2 separate regions of the Homo sapiens genome follow, and region 1 is linked to region 2. Evidence: promoter capture Hi-C in human tissues and cell types (Jung and others, 2019). All regions are on one chromosome and are shown on one strand. Each heading gives the region's core, a stretch centred on a gene start or on the middle of the fragment in contact. The rest is flanking DNA. Distances are from core to core; before and after follow the strand shown. Region 1 has its middle 27 kb from the start of ARHGEF3. Region 2 holds the start of APPL1 (adaptor protein, phosphotyrosine interacting with PH domain and leucine zipper 1).

The links. Contacts are between HindIII fragments. The study calls those that stand out against the background at their distance.
Region 1: a contact is called between a fragment that was not itself captured here and the fragment with the promoter of APPL1 in region 2, in 1 of the 25 tissues and cell types used here (aorta).

The regions. Positions count from the first base shown.
Region 1 is chr3:56,827,181-56,830,019 of GRCh38, reverse strand. It overlaps a transcript of ARHGEF3 not described here. Among named protein-coding and RNA genes, the nearest start is that of ARHGEF3, 27 kb to the right of the region's middle. The HindIII fragment of the contact is 7,225 bases long and covers 1-2,839 here.
Region 2 is chr3:57,226,251-57,229,252 of GRCh38, reverse strand. APPL1 (adaptor protein, phosphotyrosine interacting with PH domain and leucine zipper 1) reads right to left here and starts at 1,524. Exons shown (of 22, transcript NM_012096.3): 1 at 1,316-1,524. The coding sequence starts at 1,369. It also overlaps a transcript of HESX1 not described here. RefSeq lists a silencer at 1,067-1,726. The HindIII fragment of the contact is 9,927 bases long and covers 1-3,002 here.

The sequences.
Region 1 (2,839 bases), core at 236-2,735, 400 kb after region 2:
TGATCGTAGTATTTTCCTTATAGGACATTGTGAAGTGCCATAACACGATCATCGGATAGTAAATCCTAAACTGTCTGTTGCTATTATTTGGGGACTGGTATAAGGTACCATGCTTGGTAGAGAGTTGGTGAACTTTGCTAAAGTCCTGACATTCTGTGGATATCCTCCTTAGAGACTGGAAACAAATCCCTGCTTATGTAACCCATTGACTGATGAGGCTGATGGTGAGGGCTCTCTCCCTGACCCCTGAAATACCACTGTTTCAGAGAGACAAGACAGCCTGCTGTTTGTCAGAACATTTTAGCTTCAGGATTTTAAATCAGCATTCCAAAGATTTAAAGGCAAAGAAATATGTGTTGGAATTTCCACAGAAAAGAGTGTCAAGGTTCTGTGCTTGCTTCAGATAGCTCTGTCTGTGGGGGTTGGCAGATGTTCTTCGGGAGGCATTATTACCTCTTAAAGGGAGGCTTGGGAAGGGCATTTTATTTCTCCACTGTAGGCAGATTCTCGTTTCAGCTGTAGGGCTGCAGGGATAGCTAGAGCTTCCTGAGTATTCCAACTATGGGCTTTGAACAACCTGGGCCAAATGTGGGGGCATTGCTGTCTCTGTCATGCCTTCTACAGGTAGGCTGCTGGAGCCAGGGGACTAGCTTCCAGGAGGTGAGAAAAGCCCTCCAATTGTACACTCACCGGGAGCTCAGATAGCTTGCATGAGAGCCCACGTTCACTGCCAAAGACATGTCTTCCGCAGGCCCTGGATGGAGGGCAATTGTACAATATAAAAGTCTGTCCCAGGCTGGGTGTGGTGGCTCATGCCTGTAATCCCAGCACTTTGGGAGGCCGAGGTGGGAAGATCACTTGAGGTCAGGAGTTTGAGACCAGCCTGGCCAACATGATGGAACCCCGTCTTTACTAAAAATACAAAACTTAGCCAGGCATGGTGGCATGCACCTGTAATCCCAGCTACTCAGGAGGCTAAGCAGGAGAATCGCTTGAACCCGGGAGACAGAGATCGCAGTGAGCCAAGATTGCGCCACTGCCCTCCAGCCTAAGCAACAGAGTGAGACTCCGTCTCAAAAAAATAATAATAATAAAAATGAATACATTAATAAATAAATGTCCCAGAGAAACAGTGGTGTGTGTACCACTCCACCCACAACCATACAAGGGATCTCTTTAACTTTTCTATGTAACAAAAAGGAAGACCAGTAGCAACACGTGGTTAAAGATGTGCCATAACCCAGGATGGATCTTCTCCTTCCACTGAGAAACAGGCTCCCACAGATGGCAGGTTTTACTGCTGGACCAGAGTCAGTTCTTACGCCTGAGGGCTGGGACTTTTAGAACTATGGCAACTCTGGGTATCTTTTCTTACTACTTAGCTGGACAAATTGTTTCCTAGCTTTTAAATGAGGGAGAGACAGGTTGATATAGTATAATGAACACCCAACTTGGTTTTTTTGGTTTAGTTTAGTTTTGTTTTTTTGAGATGGAGTCTCACTCTGTCACCCAGGGTAGAGTCCAGTGGCGCAGTCTTGGCCCGCTGCAAACTCTGCCTCCCAGGTTCAAACGATTCACCTGTCTCAGCCTCCTGAGTAGCTGGGATTACAGGCTCCTGCCACTGCGCCTGGCTAATTTTTGTATTTTTAGTAGAGACAGGGTTTCACCATGTTGGCCAGGCTGGTCTCGAATTCCTGACCTCATGATCCACCCACCTTGGCCTCCCAAAGTACTGGGATTACAGGCATGAGCCACCGTGCCCGGCCATGAACACCCAACTTTTAAAGCCAGTCATAGATGGAGTAAAATCTAAATTTTACCATTTAGTAGCTGCCACGATAAGCAAGTCACTTAACCCTTCTGAGTCTCAGTTTCCTCATCTGTAAAACAGGAATAGCAATACTTACATTCATGGTTGTAAATATAACAATGTATGTAAAATGAAAAATCTTACTGTTATAGCAATGTTGAATTTTTTTTTTCCTGGTGTACTTCACGTATATCTTGGCTTGTGAGTAGTACCTGCAAGATCTTGAGGTTAAGGTATGCCTTTTTTTTTTTTTTTTTTTTTTTTTGAGACAGAATCTCATGTTGTCACCCAGGCTGGAGTGCAGTGGCATGATCATGGCTCAGTGCAGCCTTGACCTCCCCAGGCTCAGGTGATATTCCTATCTCAGCCTCAGCCTCCAAAGTTGCTGGGACTACGGGAGTGTGCGACCATGCCTGGCTTTTTTTTTTCTTTTCTGTTTTTTTTTTTTTTTTTTTTTGTAGAGACAGGGTTTTGCCACGTTGCCCAGGCTGGTCTCTGAACTCTTAGGCTCAAGTAATTTGCTCACCTTGGCCTCCCAAAGTGCTAGGATTATGGGTGTGAGTCACCATACCTGGCCAGGGTACGCTCTTAATTTTCAAATGTCTGCTTTACTAGCAACAACAGACATTTACTGCGCACTTGGTAAGTGAGGCTGTCACTGAGTGCATTCATGTGCATTTAATCCTCGCAACAGCCATGCAAGGTGAAGATTATAATCCCCCATTACACATGAGGTTTAAGCAGGTGAGGCAGCTTGCCCAGGTCACAAGCAAGAAAGTGGCAGAGCTGAGATTTAAACCTGGACCACTCAGTTCATGCCCTTAACTCATAAACACCCTGCTATCTCTTAAAATGTTCATGCCCAATAATTGACATTGCTCCTTGTGATGTTGTAACATGAATGAGTCATACAGAGACAGTGGTTGTCCTTTGCTTCTTGATTTCTAGGAAGTCTTTATATATTACAGAGATTGGTGCTGAAATGGATACGAGTTGTAACTATATTTTCCCAGTTTGTCATTTGTCTTT
Region 2 (3,002 bases), core at 275-2,774:
GACCAATTCCACAAACTTTTTGCAAATCATCTGAAACAAATACAGTTTATAACTTTATATGGAGAAATCATCAAGAAAAAAATTGAACCGAGTATACTGGCAGTCAAGATAAACCAAATGTGAGTTTCTCTTTTTGTCACTATCAGCTGTTAAGAGTACATTAGCAGCAGGCAACTGGCCTGTGAAGATAACTTTCAGAATAAAAAAGAACAAATCAATTCTACAATCAGAGCCCCATTTCAACTTGGCAATTAACATTGGCACAAAATCCATGGCAGAAGTGCCATCCAGGAAAAGGAGATCTAGACCTCTTCTGCTTTTCTTCTTTGGGGGCCATGTTCAACTGTAAAGACACACGAAATGGTGCAACTGCATTTCTAAATCAGCAACAATTCAGAAATGTTTCATTCTAAATAGTGTCCAACCAGCAACACCGTCTTAAACCGTTTAAATTATCGTGTAAAACGGCTTAGAGATGAAGTTTTCCCTATGCAAGTTACAGCCCCTGCCAACATTTTAAAAAATATAGCTGCTTTCATTCTGCAGTACTGAAAACATATTAAATGGTTACATTTTCCAAAACTGTCTTAAGCTAGAGCAACCACATCAGCATCATTCCGACGCACAGAACACAGGGCTTTTATTTTGATGAGTTTATTAAGGCCAAGTCTGCAGGGAGCAGCGCAGCAGTCGCGGAGCGGCGAAGGCACCGTCCATCCCTCGCCGTGCACAGCTCGAGTGACAGCGACCACAGTCACGGCCGCGACACGGGCACATTCGGCGGGGAGAGCGGTCTTGGGCTCCGGGACCCGTCACGGGCTTTGCCATTAGGGCTCCACACACAACCTTACAGCCTCTCCCAAAGAAAAACGATCCATTTCCTTCCTTAGCTTGCTGAGCCTCGGAAATCATTAAATAAGACTATCGGGGTTTCTCTCCCTTCTGCAATTTTTCTGAAGAGGTTCTCAGGGAGAAAATTCCAGGATCGAGATTTGGCACCTCACATCACCGCGATAAAAACGGCGCCTTTCGTCAAATAAAAAGGACCCGCGCGCGTACGTGACCGCCCGGCCCACGAGCACCAGCGGCTCGGTCTCCGCCTGCGGCCCTCGGCCCAGCCGAGCAGGCCCACGCGGGCCTTGGGCGGCGGGCCCAGCCTCCACAACTCCGGGCGCGGCCTGCGACGGGCGGTGACCTAGGGCGGCGGCGGCCCCCACCTGGGCCGGGGCGGGCACCTGCGGGAGCCGCGGAGGCGCCAGACCTGGGGTCGGCCAGCTGGGCTCTCCCTCGTCGCCCACCAGCTCCCGCGCCTCACCTGCGGGCTGTCCTCCAGCGTCTCCTCGATGGGCAGCTTGTCGATCCCCGGCATCGTGGCGGAGGGAGGGCGGTGGCAGGAGACGCAGCTGCCGCCCACAGCTCCCCGCGCCGGCCCGCCCGCCGCAGCTGACCCCGGCCCGCCCTCTCCGGCAAGGGCTGCAGCCGTCCCCGCCCGCACAGCCTTCTCCAGGCGCCGAGCGGCCGTGCGGGAAATCCCGCCCCCTCGGCCTCCCTGCCCCGCCTCCCGGCGCGTCCATTGGCTCCCGGGGACGCCCATCCGCGCTGCGGCGGTGGTCGGGAGGTTCCCGTGCGGCGCTAGGCTCTCCCGCGAGCGCGGGCGTCGGAAGCGGCGGAGGTGGCAGTGTCTGCCCTGGGATGGCCTTCCCTGCACGCGCGCGTTTGTATCTAAATCGCAGGGGACCGTCTCTTCCTCAGCTTGCCGGCGCGAGGAGCCAGAGCCTCGAGTTAGGGCCACACGGGGGAATTTGGGGCGGGTTGACTTTTCCCGCAACATATTTTGTCAGAGACCTTGGAGAAAGTCCTACTGCTGGCGCCTTTTAGTTTCCTCAGATGATAACATTCCCAACTCCGCTCGAAGCGTCCAGTCTTAATCCCCTCCAGCAGAATGGTGCTGACTAACTCAGATGTCTGAGATCCGCAGCTGTGTCAATAATAGGGCTTTCTGGCAAACTTGTGAACGTAGGCTCGAAATTGTTTTTCTGGACGCTTGAATATCAGTATATTCAGTTGAAAACATGTGATTTTGTTGCCAGTTTATCAGTTCCTACCTGGCCTCCCGAGGTCAGTCCTTCAGGACTGACGCTGCAACTCCAACTCCCATGTTTCTTTTAAATCACAAAGGAAAATATCTTTTAAAAATCAGGATACACTGATTAATTATGTTAGTAACTAATTGGCATTTGTTGAATCAAAAAGTTTTGGAAGCGTTAAATAGTTTTAGCCTCTAATTTTACAATAAAGTGAAGCTCAAAGTTGGGAATTTGACCGGATGAGGGCTACAAGCCTATCCTTTCCTCCTCCCTCTTCATCTTTCCCAACCTGTCACCCTGGCTCGTTTATGTCTCTGTATAGTTGTAGGCTTTCATCATTATACAGAGAAAATAACAAAGTAAGTAGTGTCTTCTAAACATCTAGCCATTAATTCCACCAATCCATTCCATTTTCATTCAAGAAATACCAGAGATGCTGAGTAAAGATTAATTAGCTGCCTGGTTCCACAGATACATGGGAACAAATCCAGAATAGTAGTAGCTCAAATCCAAATATAGTAACAAATAGAAGTTATATATTTTAAACGAAAATAGTAGATTTTCCCATGATCTCTTGAAAGAAAAATAAAATTATATTTTTAAAGTTTTGTTGAGTAGACTTGCATTGTAGTTTTACGGAATTATTTTTAGTGTTACAATCTTTAAAAGTTTTCCCCTTAGATTGTTTATCAGCCAGTCTCTCTCTCCCGAAGAGTTCTTTAGTTTTTGAGGAAGTTGATTTGGAGGCAGTTCTTACAATGAGTTAAGGGTTCCCAGTTGTGTTACAGTTTCTTTTTCCTTGATATCTCATTTCTACTCTGCCAACAAGAACACCATGCACCCCAGCTCTAAAGAAGGAAGACTTTCAAGGTAAGTGACCTTCCTGATTGAACTGAGTTAGATTTTAAATGAAGA